Linked DNA regions of Homo sapiens: region 1 is linked to region 2. Evidence: promoter capture Hi-C in human tissues and cell types (Jung and others, 2019). All regions are on one chromosome and are shown on one strand. The core of a region is centred on a gene start or on the middle of the fragment in contact, and the rest is flanking DNA. Distances in the headings are between cores, read along the strand shown.

Region 1 (4,464 bases), core at 437-2,936, 720 kb after region 2:
CTGAATCAGGGTCACATGCCTGTACCCTAGCTGCAAGGAAGAATAATTTGAGGAAGAGGAAATCAGTATGGAAATTCTACAAACAGTGAGTGAAAGGATGCTAGGTGATCACAAACCTGAATAATGCTGACTTTAGTCTACCCCTTGACTGTTCAAAGGTAATATTCAGCTCTCCTTCTATACCAGCATTTCCCAACTCTTCATTTTAAGAGCCAAGAACATGCTCCTCTTCTTTATGTCATACCCTTTTCCTAGCAAGAGTCAGGATTTGATCACAATTACTTCCCCCAATTCATACTCCATTATCCCCTCTTCTCTTGCCACCATTAAATAACCACATGGCTCTCTGTTTTTGTGGGGTTGATAATTCCTCATTGAAACAGTGGTTATTTATTGTTTTGATTGTTACTATATTAAGCTTTGGGAGGGATCGGGTGTGACGGTTAATTTTGTCAGCTTGGATAAGATATGGTGGCTAATTTTCTGGTCAAATACCAATCTAGATGTTGTTACGAAAGTATTTTTTTTAGATGTGGTTAACATTTAAACCAGTAGACTTTGAGTAAAGCAGCTTGCTCCATAATGTGGTGAGCCTCATCTAATCACTTGAAGGCTTTGAAGAGAAATGACAGAAGTCCCTCGAGGAAAAAGAAATTCTGCTTCCAGATTGCCTTCAGACTCAAGATTGCAACATCAACTCTTCCCTGGGTCTTCATCCTGCTGGCCTACAGGATGAAATCTGGCCAACATTCATGATTGTGTGAGGCAATTCCTTAAAATAAATGTCTCTCTCTTTTCAGCTCATTGGTTCTGTTTCTCTGGAGAACGCTAATACAAGGGAGAAGGGAGGTTGAAGGAGATATTAATAAGTTCCTGGCAGGGAAGTTTCAAGACATAATTTAAAAATATATATTTTTAAGTGTCCTTTTGTATTTTTTCACTTTAGCCATTCTATTGTTCAGCTTTTCTTTAAAAGTTTGGCTAAAAAGTTTGATATATCTCTTTCCCTATGCATACCCTTTGTTGGAAGGAAGGGCTGGGTTGTAATTCAAGATTGTAGCCACTGGCTTGAATCTCTCCCAAAGTTTCTTGCGCTCTAGGCTTCCTCGGGGTTCAGTGACCTACTAGAAAATTATTCTCTCTCTCAGGAAATAAATCTAACAGTCTCCACTTTTCTTCTTATGTCGAGGGTGACTCACTAGAATGTAAGAGACGACCAGATACATTATCATTCATTTATTCCTTTTGTTCCTTCATTTCTTACTGTGCAAGAAATGTAAAGAAGAAATGTAAGAAGTGTAAGGCTTGTAAACCCAGAGGTTAATACGGCTCAGTATCCTAACAGCCGCGTGTTCAAGAAGCACAGCCAGGGGGAATTCTACTGTTTTTGGAATTTCTCTAAGAACCTTAAATGGACCCTAACATACATTAACACTTCTTCAAGCCACTTCCCACTACTCCCACCCCACCATGGCTCCAGTGGCTCTCTCCTCAAACTGACCCTCAAAAGGCTTCTATCCTGTAGCACAACATTATCTCTATGCTTTTAAGCTCTTACTCCAGCACTCATCATTTATTACTATGCAAATATATGACAAGAGGTGGGGCAACTCCCAGAGAGATCTAGGCTTGGCCAAGGAATCAGCATTGAGTTCCCAGAGGATTCTGATAGGGAGGTGGGGACAGTCCATGAAGAGTGGAGGGAATTGCACTTAAGACAAGTACCAGCGAAGCACCAATAAATCAAGCTCCCTCCCCTTCTCACCTACTAGCTAATCTCTCGATTTCATCCCTCTCTTACTATTTTCCACCAAAAAAGTCCAAAGAACAAGTTCATCAACAACAGAAATCCCCTCAGTGGGTGGAGAGAGTGGAGAAAGAAAAGGCAGAAATCAAATTCACTATAGCAGGAAGAAAAGAAGTTAAGCATGCAAAAACCTGGGGTATGGGCTGGTAGATGGTGCGAAAATTCAAATAGTAAGCATTTTTGTCTGGTCTCAATTCATTCATTTGTTCATTCTTTTTGCTTTCTTGAAAAAAAAAAATTAAGATGCTGTCGTGTTCCAAGGCAGTGGCCTAAGTATTGAGAATTCAGGAATAAATTAAGAGCACAGTCCAAGCCCTCATTAACCTCCCTGTGGTTTCCCTGCCACCCACCCTGGCTGTACCTACTGCGCTTGGGGTGTTTAGCTCAGAATCGCAGAATTGCGCCCCCTGGCTGTTCCCTTTTGCAACAGCGGACGTTGGGAGCAGATGACGCTCCCAGCAGAGCTCTGTTAATGGTAGCAGGTTCCCAAATTCCCGGTCCCAGGGCCTGTTCCTGTCAGCAGTTCTCTTACGGCACCTGTTGACTCTGCACTTTGAGAAATCAATTCCTCTTTAGCGTCAGGGCTGGGCGTTTCGGCATCACCTCCTAGGACACTGCTCACAGTATGTGCTGCCAAAAGGCAACAGCAATGCACATCAGATCCTTTCCAAACGTCCTTGCTTAAAGACACTGGAACCGGTTGCTCAACTTCGGTACTGTGCAGACGCTTTTACATCCCCTACAACCCCCAGGAGCGTGCCTGCAAAATCCAAGCGAGAGATACTTTAAGTAACCCCTAAATCGATTAAAGTATGCATCAAGTGGCTATTATGGGAAAAGAGAAGTTTTATTTATATACAGTACATAAAATAATTTCCTTTTACATTACTATTAAAATGAAGATAGAAAAAAATGTGGAGAGTTCAAGGGTCCCCCAGAATGACCCTATATTGACCCTATATTCGAGGAGGTGAACCTCACTCCACTCTACAGCATTTCACTCCTAGCAATCTCCTGCTGGGCACTCCTGAAGCAAAAGGTGGAGAACTCATGCAATGATGGCTTAGAGCAAGCTTGTCCAACTCATTGCCCGTGAGCCACAGGAGGCCCAGGATGGCTTTGAATGTGGCCCAACACAAATTCGTAAACTTTCTTAAAACATTATGAGACTTTTTTGTGACTTTTTTAAAGCTAATCGGCTATTGTTAGTGTTATTTTATGTGTTCTACAAATGTAGAACAGGGAAGCCAAGAAACCGGACACCTCTGGTTTAGAGTGAACTTTCATGCCCCAAAAGAGTCCTCTCAGGACTGACGTGTGCAAAGGTAGGTAACCAGAGAATTGGCAAAAGTGGAGCTTTTCTTTTTTGCTAATTCCCTTCCCCCATCCTCAGAGGGCACAAGGACACCAGACAAATCAAGTCCGAGAAACTATCTCATCGTTCTCCAGCTTATGAGTGGCAGACACTGCTAGCAGCCTACCTAGTAGGCTCTATAGATACCTAGTAGTATCTTTTATTCATTACTAAGAGATTCTCCATTTTGTTCAAGGTAACAATGTACTCAACTACATTTCCCTTGTAGCTAAGGCTGACTATGGTACAGGGTTTTAGCCTTAGTCTAGGGTTACAAGCAGTGCTGCTGATCAGGGCTTCTGGAAAGCTCTTTAAAGGGCTTAGGTTTAGGAAGTTTTTGCCCTTCACCCTACTCCTTCTTTGGCATGTGGAGGCCATATGATATGGTTTGGATTTGTGTCCCGCCCAAATCTCATTGAATTGTAATCCCCAGTGTTGGAGGAGGGGCCTGGTGGCAGGTGATTGGATCACGGGGATGGACTTCCCCCTTGCTGTTCTTGTGACAGTGAGAGAGTTCTCATGAGATCTGGTTGTTTAAAAGTGTGTAGCACCTTCACCTTTCCCTTCTGTCTCTCTTCCTCCTTCTCCAGCCATGTAGGATGTGCCTGCTTCCCCTTCACCTTCTGCCATGATTGTAAGTTTCCTGAGGCCTCCTCAGCCATGCTTCTTGTACAATCTGCATAACTGTGAACCAATTAAACTTCTTTTCTTTATAAATTGCCCAGTCTCAGGTAGTTCTTTATAGCAATGCAAAAACTGCCTAATACACTATAGTAGAAGTGGAACTGCTGTCACTTACCAGGGTGTGGCTGTGAGCCTGAAAGCCACATGCTGAGGGTGGTAGGGCACTGAGCCCGAGTCCTTGGTACTATATGGATCCTTTGTACTGGCCCCAGTTGAAATAAGCTATTTCAACAAAACTTGCATGTTATCCTCACAGTGGTATTTCAAGTAATATTTCTGTGAGATGATTCTGAAGCATGTTGAGTTTTCCCTCCTTTGAGACTTACAAGTATTTGGGGCAAATTTGTTATTTTTCTTCTCTATCAAAATGAAAAACGGATCCATATTTCCTGTATCTTACAGTTTTGTTGACATAAAGTAGAATTGATAGTCTAATATATCTAAAGTGGATCATACTGCTTTGTTTTTGTTTATGGGTTTGGATTAGTCAGGACTCTCCAGAGAAACAGAACAAATAGAATGTGGATTTATATAGGAGATTTATTATAAAGAATTGGCTCTTGCAATTATGGAGGCTGGCAAGTCTAAACTCTACACTGTGGGCCAGCAGGGTGGAGAC
Region 2 (4,299 bases), core at 148-2,647:
TATTATTACTGTAAATGTCTCCCTAACATTTAAGACAGAAAAAGATTTCCAGAGTTCTTCTTACGTTTTTAATCGACTTCTCCAACACTTGAGCATCCACCAAATATCACTGCCAAAAATGTGCTGAACATCTCCTGTTATGACCTCACTCTCCTATGTAGTGTTGTTCACATATTTTTTGCCATAAGCTTTCTAAGAAAATAGATTATTTTTCACATGATTCAAAGCATCTTTCTTTCATATTGAAGGAGCAATAATTCCTTATGCAGAAAGTTTACAGGTTGTTGTTGCTGTTGTTTGAGATTACTCCTCAATTAATTAATTCTATGTTTAATATCTAATAGAGCATATATATGTACACTTGGACACACTCCATTAATACAGTGGAAAATCCATGGACTATAGAGTCAGGAAAACCTATATTCGAATTCCTGTTCTGTGACCTTGAGAATGTAATTTAACTTCCCTGCTCCTCAGTTTCCACATTTGGTTCTGGATTATGATGATTTAATAAAATACGATATATAAAAGTAAGTGCCTAGGCTATGAAGGTATTATTTCCTACCTCTCCTAAATCTTTTCTTTCTATGCCAGGATCAATCAAACCCACCCAGAATACAAGGCAACTTTCATAGGGTATCTTTTACATCAGTCGAGGGAACGCTGCGATGTGATATAAGTGGATGATGGCATGAGTCAGGCATCCAACAGAGCAAGATGTGGAGAAAGTGAGAGGTACCTACAAGGGCCCTAGACTTCACTCGCATGTGCGAAAAGGGCATTTTGATACCCTTTCAAGAATGCCCCGCATACTCGCGGAGGCTTATACCACGATGTGGGAAAACGACGGAATTACAGAATAAACCAGCAGGGAGCCTCCTCGTTCACCCAACCCGACCCCGCCCGCCCGAGTCTCCCATCTGGAGCCTAAAAACTGAGCTGAGATCACAGCAACTGACCCCGTCCCCTCCGCCCTCTCCCTCCCCCATTCTGCCCAAACCTCTCAGGGCACGAATGGTGCTGAATCATTTGCACGAACGCAGCAGCTCCCCGTTCCGCGGCTCCCAGCGGGGACGGTGTCCCCAGAGCAGTGACAGTCCGGGGATGGGGGCCCGGAAAGAGGGCCAGGGCGGAGCCTTTGGGGACGTGGGGACATGGAAGGGGGTCGGGGGAGGATGGCGGCAGCAGGTACTCACCCGGGTGAGGAAAGCCCAGCCCGGGTCCTCGCGTCCCCGCTGCAAGCGGTCCCCCAGGTGCTCCCGCGCCTCGCAGCTTCCCCGTGGGCGGCCGCCCCGACTCGGCAGCCTGCACTGGTGGTCCGGTGCTCTCCTCCGCCCGCCCACCGCCCGTGGCAGCCACGGCTCGGGACTCCGGTGCTCGACGCGGAGTGCCTGGAACAGCTGTCGCTGCCCAAGCGGGTGGCGGCTACCGACGGGCCAGACCATTCGCCTGCTGCGGCCGGGGGTGCACGACGTGCCGAGAGGCGCGGGCGCCGGGGGCGGCGACGGTTGGGAGGAACAAAGGACTCGGGGAATCCTCTGCCCCCTCGGAGTCAGGAGGTCCTGGGGACAGGAGGGATCAACGGAGGGGCCGCTGCCTCTTCTGGGGGTTTACTGAAGACACTGCTCGAGCTTTCCCGGGCCACACACACCCCCCCCCCGTTTGCCTTGGTCCCGCTCGGGGCTCCTTTAGAACGCGGCAAACAGAGGACTTAGCAACGCGAGCGCCTGGGCGGCGCCCCTCCTCAGAGATGCGAGAGGCGCTGGCCTGAGCGCCTCCGGCCACCTCCTTCTACCTCCGGGCCCTAGGCGCCCGATCCACCTGCCTATCTGACCACAGACATCTTCCCACAAAACAGTGGAGCTTTTTGAATCTTTGAAGAGAGTCTTCAGATCTTTTATCTAAGCATCTTTGTGAAGCAAAGAATAAACGGGTATCTGAGGCCAGCTCGAAAGTTAGGAAATAAAATCAGGTGGGGCCCCATCCCGTAGATGCTGAGGGACAGCTCTGACCTAGAGTTCCTGCTAAGCAAATGTTGAACCACGGCAGTTGTAAAAAAATGTAGATTTAGGAAGCCATTTCGAGATAAAGATTTACAGAAGATTGTTGCAGAAATTAAAGAATATTCGAGGTTCATTGTTCACCATTTTAGAGTTGCGTGTCTTGAAAACGGGAAGGCAATCATGTCTTCTCATAAAATGAATTGTATAGAACTGGAAGAAGTCCTAACACATGAATTCCTTAGACTTTTGTGGTCCCTGCTTCTGTCACGCTGGGTTCACACAGGTTCATTTCAGAGCATGGTGAAGATCAGGACAAGTGTACAGTTTTCCCTGTAGAAAAAAAGAAAAGATAGAACAGAATTGGCAACTACCTATAAAATGTGATTAAAGGTAGGAAAAAAAAAGGCCCTCCAAGTGCATCCCAAAAAATATAAAATTTCACAATTTAAAGTTTTGTCCTTCGTTGAGTAAATCAACATAAATTCAGCACTTTCTATAGACCACTGTGCTGAGAATAGTCTCATTTTCATTTCTTCATTTATTCTTCTAAAAACTCCTGTGAGATTGGTAACCTGCAATAGACCTCCATACAGCCTTGCCAGCATTGGGAACTGATCTGGTCAGTGAGGGCATCTTCTCATAAAGGACACTGGTGAGAAACTGGGCTCAGGGTTTGTCGTGCTGGGTTAGTCTCACGATCATAAGCGGCAGAGCAGACATTGCCACCTGGAGTTTTTGACTTGTTCCTTTCCCCTAGAATGCCTCTGAGAACGATATACATTAAACCGTGTCACATCTGTGATTGCAACTTGAATGTGAGTCTGTTTATCCTTCCTTTGTGAGAAGGGGTTTTAGAATGGAGAGGGGGCAGTTAGGTGTCCAGGGTAGGCATCACCCTGAGGCAAGAAGAGTGATCAGAAAGAAGAAGCTGGACTTCACCCAGAACTAGCCGAACATCAGCGTCACAATACACTGTCAAGGTCACATGAGGTTGAAGAGGAATTCTCCACTGCCTTCTTGTTAATCATCTTTACATCATTATTTTCACTGTATTACACTTTACACTATGCATGCACTATTACTACATTACATGTTATCATTCTTCCATTCCTAGGAAGGGGCAAGAATTTTTCAATAAACCTATTATCATGGGTCCTCATATACCTTATCAAAAAAAATGTTAAGTAACAGAGGTATTAGCAACACTTAACGTCACCTCAAGAAAGCTTTTTGAGAAATCAGGAATAAAATTAAATTGTTTCTGTATGATATGATATTGTTACTATGTTAATGGTTGTTGTAAAGATTCACACGTCAGCAGCAGCAAAACAGAAATCCCCAAAGTTGCATGTTGCCGAGGAGCAGGAGCATTGGGTCCCCAGTGGCCAGACTGGCCTCAGGCTCAGAAATGTGTGATTCTTCTCTCCATGTGCAGTTGTTTCACTTTCAAAGGCAACAACAGGAACAGAACACATGTAGATGAGGCGTCTTCTGAGTTAGTGCTTTATGTCAGATGTTAGATGATAGGGATATAGAAAGGAATTTAGAGCCTTATGATTTGTGGTGCGGATGGGCCAGTGACATCTGCAGCAATCTGTTTGTATAAGTTGACACTCTTGGAACATATGTTTCTGAATGAAGAAAGGGGAATTTTTGTGCTGGCAGCCTTGGGAAATTGTCAAAAGAAGTGGAAGGAATGGTGTGATGCCTGCATTCCCTGCTTTCCTCAGAGTCCTCAAATGGTTTTGAGCCTGCTGTGTAAAGAACTTAGGGCCAGAAGCTAAATAATCATCTTCCCCACAAATGACTTTGTGAAATTTAAGTTCTAAGAAGTACTACTTTAGGCCTGGTGACAAATGACAGCATGGAGCTGGCAAGAGAGCCATTCTCTCACCCAACCTGAAATAGACCTCCATACAGCCTTGCCAGCGATAGGAACTGATCTGCCCAGTGAGGGTATATTCTCATAAAGAACACTGGTGGCCGATACAAGGTCAAGGTAACTTAAGTAGGAGCCCAGAGCAGTAAAGCAGGAGTGGTATTATTCCTGAGCACCTGAAAGACACTGCTGAGGATTTCTTGCTGCAAATGATGGAGACTAGGGAGGCACTGCAGGGTCAAGGGAATCATTATTAAACTCAAGATGATTGTTAAACCTTATTTAGGCACCGATATTAACATGAACTCATTTGTATTCACAAACTAGCATGATCTGGGAACATTCCAATATTACTTTTTAAATGATACTAATAAGAAGAGAGCTAGAGAGAAAGAGAATACTTAATGCCTTTGATAA

Evidence for each region. The method cuts DNA at HindIII sites, captures the fragments that hold promoters and counts their contacts. A contact is called where the count stands out against the background at its distance.
Region 1: a contact is called between a fragment that was not itself captured here and the fragment with the promoter of TTLL7 in region 2, in 3 of the 25 tissues and cell types used here (mesenchymal stem cells, small bowel and stomach).

The regions. Positions count from the first base shown.
Region 1 is chr1:84,722,321-84,726,784 of GRCh38, forward strand. No RefSeq gene overlaps it. Among named protein-coding and RNA genes, the nearest start is that of SSX2IP, 34 kb to the left of the region's middle. The HindIII fragment of the contact is 5,423 bases long and covers 1-4,398 here.
Region 2 is chr1:83,997,735-84,002,033 of GRCh38, forward strand. It overlaps TTLL7 (tubulin tyrosine ligase like 7), which reads right to left and starts at 1,398. Exons shown (of 21, transcript NM_024686.6): 1 at 1,197-1,398. LOC124904205 (a long non-coding RNA gene) reads left to right here and starts at 1,554. Exons shown (of 2, transcript XR_007066195.1): 1 at 1,554-1,972. RefSeq lists silencers at 1,058-1,187, 1,198-1,297. The HindIII fragment of the contact is 6,127 bases long and covers 1-4,299 here.